4 separate regions of the Homo sapiens genome follow, and regions 1, 3 and 4 are each linked to region 2. The links are contacts of gene promoters, found by promoter capture Hi-C in blood cells and fetal thymus (Javierre and others, 2016). All regions are on one chromosome and are shown on one strand. Each heading gives the region's core, a stretch centred on a gene start or on the middle of the fragment in contact. The rest is flanking DNA. Distances are from core to core; before and after follow the strand shown.

Region 1 (2,700 bases), core at 171-2,670, 190 kb after region 2:
GAGATGTTTATATGGTTTTTTGTTTTTAGTTTGCTAATATAGTGAATGACATTTGATTTTTAAATGTTAAACCAATCCAACATTTCCAAACTAAGCACCAGTTTTTCACAATGTAGTATCCATTTATATATTGTTGGATTTAATTTACTAATATTTGGCTAAGGAGATTTGTGTCTAGATTCATAGAATATTAATAGTTTTCTTTTCTAGTAATATCTTTGGATTAGTATCAGTGTAATACTGGCCTCAAATAATGAGTTGGGGAAATATTCCTTCTTCAGTTTTTTGGCAGTTTGTATAGAATTGGTATTATTCCTTCCTAAGTGTTTTGTAGAATTTACCAGTGAAGCCATCTGTGTCTGGGAGATTTTTATAACTACAAATATAATTTCTTTAATAGATATATAGATTTTCAGGTTGTTCTTCTTATGCTTTAGTAATTTGTGTCTTTCAGGGAAGTTGTCCATTTCATCTCACTTGTCAAGTAAATACAGGCACAAAGGTGTTTGTAATAGTTCTTCAGTATCCTTTTAATATCTGCAGACTCTAACAATGTTATCTGTCTTGTTTATGATATTGGCAAAAGTCTGTTATTAAGGACACGTGTTTTAGATTGTTATGTACTTTTTATTAATTGACCCCTTTATCACTGTGAAATGACCACTTTTATACCTGGTAATGTTATTTTTCCTATAATCTGTCTAACATTGAAATAGTCACTTCACCTTTCTTTTGATTAGTGCTAGCATAGTATATTTTCTCCTATCCTTTTACTTTTAACCTATTTGTGTCTTTTTATTTAAAATGCATTTCTCATTGGCAACATGGAGTGGGGCGGTCTTTCTTTCTTATTCAATCTAACAATCTCTGCTTTTCAATTGGAATGCTATACAATTTGCATTTAATGAGATTATTGATATGGTTAGATTTACGTCTGTCATCTTATTTGTTTTTGGCTTGTCCCATGTGTTATTTGTTCTCTTTTCTTTGTTTCCTGCTGCCTTTTCAATTGAGTAGTTTTTATCTCCCTGCTTGTCTTATTGGTTATGACCAGTCCTTGCCCCTCAGAATATATGATTTAATGGACTTACTAGAGGTACTCCTAGGTATTGGCATTTCTTTAATAGATTCCCAGATTTGTGAACCACTGGACTAAATGAGCTCCATGGTAACTTTCAATTTACTAGCTATGTGACTTTGGTCAAGTTATTTGACCTCTCTTAATTCAATTTCCTCATCTATAAAATGGATATAAGGAAATATATTCATCTGCAAGTTAAAAATATTTAAAGTATTTTAAATAGTATTATGTTCATGTGGTTCAAACTTTAAAAGGTACACAGAGATTTAATATATTCTATTTTATACTTTTTTATTTTTTGAATTGTAGATTTTTGTATTAATAGATTTAGGTAAAATTATTTTCAAAAACTCAGAATGAAGGGTTTTATCCTTACAACCATTGAAAACTCGAAAACCTGGTTTTTGACTTGTTAATATGATTTAAATTATAATTTTAAAATTTACTGTGTTATAGTTTCTAGAGAAAGGTAAAAAATATCTTAGATTTTTCTTAGTGCATAATAGGTCTTTTCAGGACAGGAGTATGACTTTTGAAATCAATTTAATGCATTTTTTGTTTTGTGCCTCTTCCACAGGTTTTGATTCCCACCATGGCCATCACCCAGTTTCGGTTATTTAAATTTTGTACCTGCCTAGCAACAGTATTCTCATTCCTAAAGAGATTAATATGCAGGTAAATAAGTTTTATGTTCAAACTAACCTGTTTATCTCCTCGCTGGTTTTGGATACCTTCAAAACTTCAAATTTCGTGGACAGGACAGGTTATATTTAAGCTGAATATCTTGATTGCAGTATTTATTCATTAATTCCTAGTCATTTTTAGATACTTTTTCTCTACTTCAGATCTAGAAAATAGAGGTTCAGTTGTTTTGTTCATTCAAATTCTTACACTTTCCACTAAAATAACATGCTTAATACTATTTAGGAATAGACAGACCAACTTTCATTATTATAATCATCACAGAACTTTGATGTATTCGTTTCATTATGGGAATGTTTTAAAGTGGTTAGGTGAAATTCGGAATAGGTATTTCTGTCTATACTACAATAGTGTTGTTTTTATATTTAAAAAAAAATCCTAAGAAAAATCCTAAAAAAAAAAAATTTTTTTTTCTGTTTGAGTAACATTCTAGAATATGCAGGAAGTCAAGAGCAGGTAAGTCATTTGCTTTAGGACATCATCTGTAGACTTCAGTTCCTTCTGTTTTGTCACACGATCATACCCAAGAGCTATGATGTCTAAAATGTGTGCTGAGGCACCTCAGGGCTTTACATGAAATTCACAGGGATGCCATAGAATATTTTAAATTTTGCAGTGAAACATAGTGATAGCATCTGTTGAATACCTCAACTCAAAGTAGTTCACATTTGCAACATTAAATCCTGCAGTATTTTTTTATGATGGTGTTCTTTAATGTTTGAGATAAGTTTTTGTTTACTTATATTTTTGGTGACATCTCATTGCAAAGCCAGGATTTTAGGTTGTAATTAAAAGCGAGTACTGCACCAAAATTAATGTAGAACTGAAAACAAGAATGATGGTCTCCAGTCTTATTCTAAGGCATAAGAAGCTGTGCAGTGTTCAACAGGCACACAAATTTCATTAATAAGTTCAGT
Region 2 (2,700 bases), core at 107-2,606:
AACCATTTTGAAGTAAATTCCAGACATAAAGACACTATGACCCCAAATACCTCATCATGCAATTCCATCACTTGAAAACACTCTTTGACTAAAGTATGATACCACTATTATACCTAATAAAATGAACGCTTCTATAATATCTTTCAATACTTGTTACTTAATCCATATTCACTTTCCCTAATTTGTTCTGCAAACGTCCTTCATAGCTTTATATTATTATTATTATTTTTTACAAACCAGGATCCAATAGAAGCTTATGCATTGCTATTTGGGTAATAATCTTTTAATATCTTTTAAAAACACATAACATTTTAAAATGTAGAAACTGCAAACTAGGTAGGTGGATCTTCTCATCTTTTTTTGTTGTTTGTTTTTGAGACGGAGTCTCACTATGTCGCCCAGGTTGGAGTGCAGGGGTGTGATCTCAGCTCACTGCAACCTCCGCCTCCCGGCTTCAAGCAATTCTCCTGCCTCAGCATCCCAAGTAGCTAGGATTACAAGGCATGCGCCACCCCACCAGGCTAATTTTTGTATTTTTAGTAGAGATGGTGTTTCACCATGTCAGCCAGTCTGGTCTCGAACTCTTGACCTCAAGCGATCCGCCCACCTCGGCCTCCCAAAGTGGTGGAATTACAGGCGTGAGCCGCTGTGCCCAGCCCCTTCTCACCTTTTAAAGAGTAGGGAGAGGTGGGCAATCAAGAGATCCTGAGGTTAAGATATTAAGAACAGTGAGAGGATTTGGAATTAGCCCCTGGGGAGCATTCAGTGGTGAATAATAAACTGCCTTCTCCAGGGAGGTCAGAGAAACTTGCGTTTCATTCGTCTGCTATCTGGCATCCCAGAAACAGGTCAGCAGTGCTGGACCTCCCTCCATGCCAACAGTAAGCCTTCGCCCTAAGTCTACTGATTGTCAATTAAAGAGAGAGCACAATCTCATATGAATGTGAAGGGGTAAACACGCGTGGGGTTTGTGTATTAGGTGGTCTTATAGGCCCACCTGGGGAGGATTAATGACCAAGGCAGACAGGCAGATGAAAGTACGCGGGGAAAGAGAGAAAAGAAAAGAAAAGAAAAAAAACAAAAAGAAAATAGAGAAGGAGACCTAGGGAGACCTCAATGACCATTGATTCCTTTCGCCAAAAGGAGTAAGGCCCTTCCACCTATGGGGACAGCCTTGGGAAGGCAGCACCCAGGTTTGAGTGTGGAGGTTTGATTATCACGGACTGGCTCGGGGCCGGCTTGGTTCTCCCGCGAAGGTTCCAGGGTGTGTGTGTGTGTGTGTGTCCGCGCGCGCATGCAAATCCCAGAGGAGCAGCCCGACAGCAGGGGCGGGGCAGGCCACGGGAGGGCGGCCCAGTTCCCCAGCTCTCCCGGGACGAAGCGGGCCCGCCAGCGAGTCGCAGTCCCAGGAGCCGAGCTCCAGCACTAGAGCCAGCTGCGAGCGGAGGGCACCAACTCCGCAGAACTGGCTTTTCAATGGGACACCTGTGGCTCCTGGGTATTTGGGGCCTCTGTGGGCTGCTCCTGTGTGCCGCGGATCCCAGCACAGGTAACCCTTTGGGCACGCTAGGCAGGCAAGCAGGAGAGGCCCGCGTAGACACTACCCCTGCTCCCGGGGTCCTGGGAGAGGCAGGACCACCTGGCACCTGGCTGAGGCTGTGGGTGCGGTTGCATGACGATCCTGGGGACCAGGGGAGCTGGATAGCAGGCCTAGCAAACAGAGACAGACGCAGAGAGAGAGAAACAGAGACAAGGACACAGAGAAAGAGATTGCGAGAGATTGCCTTTTAACTCATCAATGCTGCTACTTGAATGATGAAATCTCCCACCGGCACCCACAAAGTGACACAAGTAGACTGAAATTTGGCGGGGGAGTGGGGACTGGGAAGAGGCAACCTGAGTCCCTTTTCCTCCATTCTTCTTGGGTCGCTTTCCTCACAACAGAAAGGGCAACAACCCCCAGTAGGACGGGGATGGGACTTCGTGGCAGGTGTCAGTCATTTCCAGGGGCAGCTGCCCTGTGTTTTCAAAGTAATACCCAGAAGAGGGCTGGGAAGAGACTGATAAGATAAGAAATTGGAGTTGTCTGTGGAGATAACAGGAGGATGAACCTGAGATAGGCGAGGAGCAGCACTGTCTGGAGATAGGATCCAGCTTCCCCGCTGGAGTTTCCTACTCTTGGGCTGCCCTGAGATATGAATGTGCGGGAATAAGAACACCTTGGAGCTCTTGGCAAAGACAGACCCGAGGTACAGAGGCACTGGGTCTGGGGCCTCGGAACTGGTCTCCTTTATGTTGGAGAGCTTTTGCTACTATAGGTGAAGTCCACTCTAAACCTTTTTAAGACAGAACTGAACAAGCCAATCATAATTCCCTTAGCCTTTTTATATACATCCATTTTGAGAAATTAATAATTTCTGTGGCCTTTCTTTGTATCATCCCTTAAATTTTTCTACCTACTGTGAAAATTTCTTTTAGGATTCCAGCAATTACTAGATCTGTACAGTGTAAGCAGAAAATAAACACCTCTATCCACTGTGTAGCTTTGAGTTGTTTTAAAGAATTATTTGCAATACTCCAAAGAAGCAGCTCACACAATCCTGTTTGCCCGGGCAGTTCCCTCTATCTAGAACTATCTTTATCTTTCTGACAACTGGTCCAGTCTAATTCATATTTGTCCTTAAAAATGTGGAAGGGGCA
Region 3 (2,700 bases), core at 49-2,548, 200 kb after region 2:
AACCTTACTAATTTATTTTACTTAAAGTGATATTTTATAGAAAAATCATAAGTTATACAATGAGAACCCTTTAAGCCCTTAGCCTAAGCTTTCAGACTAAATGTGATTATAGAATAAGATGAAAGTTAACTTTGGTACAGAGCTTTTTATAGCCCCAAATTATATTTCCAGTTATTATATTCATTAGAATTTCTGCTAATAAACTCCCAACTTAAATAGAATTGGGCTCAAAGTTTTAATAATGTATTCTCTTCCTTCTTTGTATTTATAGTTAGTTATTATGGGAATACAACATATCTTCTCTAAATTTGGAATTCATAAAGGATAACTTCCTTTAGCTCAATTACTTGTATTGCTTTTCCCTAGTAGCTGAAAAGTATTTAAGTTTGGTTTGGTCATGATTTTCATGTGTTTGAGGTTTTTGTTGTTGTTGTTTGGCTTTTTGGTTTTTGATTATTTAAAAATAAAGACATTAGCAATTATAGTTAGTATGATTAGGAAGAAATAGATTTTTCTTGTGGAAAGAATAGATAACAATTCTGGAATTTATTTTATCTCTATTGATGTGTAAACTAAATTCCTGTATTAACTTGGGTATATTTTGGTCCCAAAAGTAGTCACTGAGTTAAATGCATATGACAAACAATTCATGGTAGCATACTGTCTCTTTTAGCTACTAAATTTATGGTTTCTATTTTTTGTTTTCTTGATTTCAATAAAGAATTGTCAGTTTTAGATGCTTATTAGAAATAATAAGAAATACTGGTAGGCATAGATAGAATTAGTGAAGTTTTAACCATTAGCAAAATCGTGCATTTCATGTACTGAGATAACAAGTAATCAAAGACATGGGAAACTTACCTTGTGTTTTTTTTTGTTTTGTTTTGTTTTTTATGTAGTAATTTCATGGTTTCTAGCCATTTCCTCTTCTTAAGCTTTACCTAGGGATATTCTCTACTTGGCTCTTCTTTTAGTATAGCATGTTTAATTGAGTTGACATTTTAGAACTGAAAATTTGAAATTCTGCATCCGAATTTCTCAGTTTTGACATGCACTTGCCTCTGGGTGATTATTTCTAGGTTGTTTCTACATGAAGATTGGTGATTGGGCAGAAGGTACCTACAGAAACCAGCATCTGGATCGAGCTTCCAACACCACTCTACAAGCTACCACCATGGCGTAAACCTAACCATAGTCAGTGTTCCAAAAAGCCTGAATTTTGTTGAGAATGGTATGTTTACTAAAGGATGGTTTGAGCCAGACAGAGCTAACATACTCATCTTGTTTGATCCTATGAAGTTCAGATTTGGAATAACCAACGATGGTTTTCATACTCCTTAAACCCCTTGCTCAAAGGAAATCTTCAGGCATGTAAGCAAACATGACAGGGTTCCGAATGGATCCCTGCTGGGAGGTTGGGAGTGGGCTAGAGCCTACAGATTGTTCCAGGGAAGGAGCTAATACCCTCTCAGGTGAACTGGAGGGCTGAAGAAGATAGTGGGTTCATGAAGAGCATATTTAGTAGCTAATAACTTAAACTTGTTTTTGTCATTTGCATAGTTTTTTTTTTAAATTTGAACTGCTCTGTCCTAATACAATACGAAGAGATTTATTTTTTTCTTTGTGTAATTCCTTTCACTTTTCTTTAACCAAAACTATCCCAAGCTTACAGCAACAGCTAGGTACTCTTTTTATACTCAACTGTTTTTTGTTTTTTTTACATTGCCTTCTGCTTTTTATCTTCCATCCCTCTTGGTCATGACCATTGGGCATACTCAATAACCAGAGTAGGTTTTGAGAGCTAGTAAAATGCTTTTTCACCAGACACCTTCGATCTTCTATAGCTTGAAAGAAACACTCTATTCTAGGGACCTCCTTGACCATCTTTTACCTTCAACAACAGATTTGTTTCTATCCTTTCATACCTCCTGCTGACACTGCTAGTTCACCAGTGGAAACTTTTGCAGAGAAGCTCACTGAAAGTCTGCGGCCAGTCCAAGATAATCCCAGCCTTCCCTTTCAGGGGACTTCTTTTCAGGGGATCTTTCTGTAGATGCTTTCCTTATATACATTGATCAGATCACCCCGGCTCTGAGAGGTTCCCAGAGTTCTCAGAGCTTCTGTAGAGGTAGTACAGCATTAAACAAATTGCCAGAGTTTGCAAATCTTTTAAATGGAAATGGTGGTTGTAAGGATTGAGACTGTACATAAGTGTTCAGTATAAGCACTCAATAATTGGAAGTTGGTATGAGGCCCTATATACTTCCCACATCTCACCATGCAGTGGTATTGGCAGCCCCTTCCCTGCAAAGAGTGGGAGAAGTTGCCTAATCTTGCAGTATTTTATACACCTTTAAATTGAACTTGAAATTTAGCAAGAAAGAAAACATTTATTGTAAGTCTGAGTCTTTGACTAATTATATCAGTGACTCTTAGCAATCCTGTAAGAGATACTACCCTTATTTCACATATAAGGAAACCAAGGCCTAGAAAATAAATTGTGTACTTGATTAATGGAATGGAAAATAGCAACCTTAGAGAGGAGGTTATAATAGTGGTTAATCAACAGTCTATGTAGACTATGATTTCTAAGGCCTCTCTTGACGGAACTATGAGCCGCCAAAATGCCTTTTAAAGTTTCTCCTAGTTCTTAATGAAGATAGCATTACAAATTATAGTAGATAATACCCATTTGTGTTT
Region 4 (2,700 bases), core at 64-2,563, 170 kb after region 2:
CTGAAGGCCTAGGGGCTACAGAAAAAATTCAAATGAACAGCTGGAATGGAAATAGTCACAATTTTAAGGGAATTGCAGGTAAGAGGTCCCTGACAAGGTAGTCTTCAAAGTATACATGAAAGCCCCTTCATGAGGAACATTTGCCATGTCCAGAGAGCATTGATACTTCATTGTACAGCACCAGGTAACAGAGCACTTTTATACTCCCCTCAGTTCCAACCCTGGTGGGGTGAAAAACCTCTGTTCCTGGGATAGGGAGGGGGAAAGAGACCCAACATGGGCCATTTCACGCTGAGACTTAAAAATCAGTCTTCCTAAGGCAAATCTAGTTTACTGTTCATTCCGTGATACTTCCTTTCTGTTGGAAAACTAAATTCCAAAAACTGCAATTCCAGCATCTATGGAACAAATTCCTACATTTGGGTTCTGGAAGAGATACAAAAATATTCTTCACACCAGAACATTGTAAAAGCCATAAAATTGTCCACCATCTGTATTCTTTTCTTACCTAAAGGTTTAATTCAGCCCACTGGAGTTTTTTGTCAAGATTTTTTCTGTCAGTTTTTAATAAGGAAATTTTCTAATACAAGTTATATGGCAGTAAAAGGAATTTCTAAAAATTGCTTCTTAGCCACACAGACTTTGTTAAAAAGTTCCTGTTTTAACTGCTTTAGGCTTCTGGCTGTCTGCTTTTTAAGAACATTCTAGAATTATCATAATAATTCCTTATTCCAGATAAATTACAATTTAATTACTACTTTTAAAAATGCTTGAATTATTGGAATCCATGGGCAATACATCTTCACATGTCCCTTATTCATATGCTAAGCAAGTTTTATTTTTGCTTTTTTTTTGCATTTAAATAATATTTCTCTGAACATTCTGTCTCAGAAATTGATGTTTAAATTCTTAAAAATAATTTGTATTGTAAGAAGTGGCTATCTAGCTCTTGAACAAGTCATAAAAATCCTTTGATGTGTGAATATTCTTCTACCTAAGACCTGAAATGTTGGCGAAGTAAATATGTTGTTCCAATTTTGGTCAAAGTAAGAAACAGAGAATAAAAAGTTAATAAGAATAGCTTCTTGTATTTCTCATAGTAAGTGAAATGTTTATATCTTGTACTACTGTCTCTACTCATTCCTAAATTCCATCACCTTGTGATCATTGCAATGACTTCTAGATGGTCCATCTGTTTTTACCTTTTATCCATTTTATCCCCAAAAGTGCTATTTAAAATATCCCTAGCACTAATAATAACAATAATCAATAATAAAGTAAAGGTTTATCACATGTTCACTACATGCCAGACACTATGCTGTGTGTTCTACATGGACCCTTTCCTTACAGCAATCCTATGAGGATAACCTTATTCCCTTCTCCAAATGAGGAAACTTGAAATGTTGAAGGGTTAGGTTAAATTCCCAAGTTCACAGAGCTACTAATGGTAAAGCTGGGATTCAAACACAGACAATTTAACTCCAGAGCCCAAATTCCAACATTTAATTGCTTCCCACTTTTCCTCAAGCATGGGCAAGTGCTTCATTGGGAAGAGTTTTTAATCCAAATTCCTGTTCAAATTCTTGGTTTCTACTTTACCACTTCTATGCCCTCAGGCAAGTTCTTAGTTTCCATTATTCTCAGTTTCTTCAACTGTAAAATGTGGAAAGTGTGACATCTGAAGACTGATGGTATCATATATATGACATGTAACACAGTGCCTAACAGGCGGTAAAATGATAGCCACTCTTGTTTTTATTTCCATAATGTGGCCTATATCATGTCAATCCCTGGCCCAGTAAACCATTAGGCTTCTTATTACACTGGAACAGTGCCTGGCATGTAATAAGCACCATGTGAGTGCTAATTATTAGAATTATTGGCTGGGCACTGGGCCACCTAGAACAAAGACAATTTCCCAGCTTCACTTGCAGTGAGACTGATCAATTTCTGTGCAGTGGGTTACAAAAACAGACATTATCTCGTGGCATATTCTAGAAACTGACCTTAAAACATAGCTATTATGCATCCCTTTGCCTTTTCTTCATCCCTTTCTGTTTTTCCAGCTACATGGAGCAAGATGGCTCCTGAGACCTGGAGGATAAAGGCCAGTGCCTTTTATTGCTCCATAACTTGTGTTAGAAAATCTCCTTACTAAAAATCTACAGAAAAATCTTGACAAAAAAAAAATTCCAGTGGATTGAATTAAAACTTTAGGTAAGAAAAGACTAAGATGGTGGACAATTTTATGGCTTTTACAATGTCCTTGTGTGAAGAATATTTTTATACCTCTTCCAGAACCCAGAGAGCTCAGCTGAAAGGAGTTTGGGTTCCTGACATTGTGGTGCCCTATACCAGCCCTTGCTCCTTTAGGGTTTCATTGTTATTTGGTGGTTATCCTAAATCTCCTGCTTTCATCAGATGTCTGAGATGGCAAAATTTGGAAGGATCAAGAGAACAGAGAGTTAATCCTTCCTAATGGGAAAGGTGGACAATGCCAAGGTTAAAATACCACATGCATCTTTGAGTTACTACTATACCCTCCCGAATGGAAATGCTTCAACTTTAATCTGAGGCTAGGCGCAGTGGCTCACGCCTGTAATCCCAGCACTCTGGGAGGCCAAGGCAGGCGGATCACGAGGTCAGGAGATCGAGACTATCCTGGCTAACACAGTGAAATCCTGTCTCTACTAAAAATAC

Evidence for each region. The method cuts DNA at HindIII sites, captures the fragments that hold promoters and counts their contacts. A CHiCAGO score of 5 or more calls a contact.
Region 1: a contact is called between a fragment that was not itself captured here and the fragment with the promoter of PKHD1L1 in region 2, in 1 of 17 cell types (megakaryocytes). The highest score is 19.4, in megakaryocytes.
Region 3: a contact is called between a fragment that was not itself captured here and the fragment with the promoter of PKHD1L1 in region 2, in 1 of 17 cell types (megakaryocytes). The highest score is 5.5, in megakaryocytes.
Region 4: a contact is called between a fragment that was not itself captured here and the fragment with the promoter of PKHD1L1 in region 2, in 1 of 17 cell types (megakaryocytes). The highest score is 6.3, in megakaryocytes.

Annotation. Positions count from the first base shown.
Region 1 is chr8:109,549,152-109,551,851 of GRCh38, forward strand. EBAG9 (estrogen receptor binding site associated antigen 9) reads left to right here. Exons shown (of 7, transcript NM_004215.5): 2 at 1,659-1,756. The coding sequence starts at 1,674. Among named protein-coding and RNA genes, the nearest start is that of EBAG9, 10 kb to the left of the region's middle. The HindIII fragment of the contact is 4,370 bases long and covers 1-2,700 here.
Region 2 is chr8:109,361,105-109,363,804 of GRCh38, forward strand. It overlaps PKHD1L1 (PKHD1 like 1), which reads left to right and starts at 1,357. Exons shown (of 78, transcript NM_177531.6): 1 at 1,357-1,549. The coding sequence starts at 1,477. The HindIII fragment of the contact is 8,587 bases long and covers 252-2,700 here.
Region 3 is chr8:109,565,776-109,568,475 of GRCh38, forward strand. It overlaps EBAG9 (estrogen receptor binding site associated antigen 9), which reads left to right. Exons shown (of 7, transcript NM_004215.5): 7 at 1-221. Among named protein-coding and RNA genes, the nearest start is that of EBAG9, 27 kb to the left of the region's middle. The HindIII fragment of the contact is 730 bases long and covers 934-1,663 here.
Region 4 is chr8:109,531,607-109,534,306 of GRCh38, forward strand. PKHD1L1 (PKHD1 like 1) reads left to right here. Exons shown (of 78, transcript NM_177531.6): 78 at 1-2,700. Among named protein-coding and RNA genes, the nearest start is that of EBAG9UORF, 6.8 kb to the right of the region's middle. The HindIII fragment of the contact is 8,383 bases long and covers 1-2,700 here.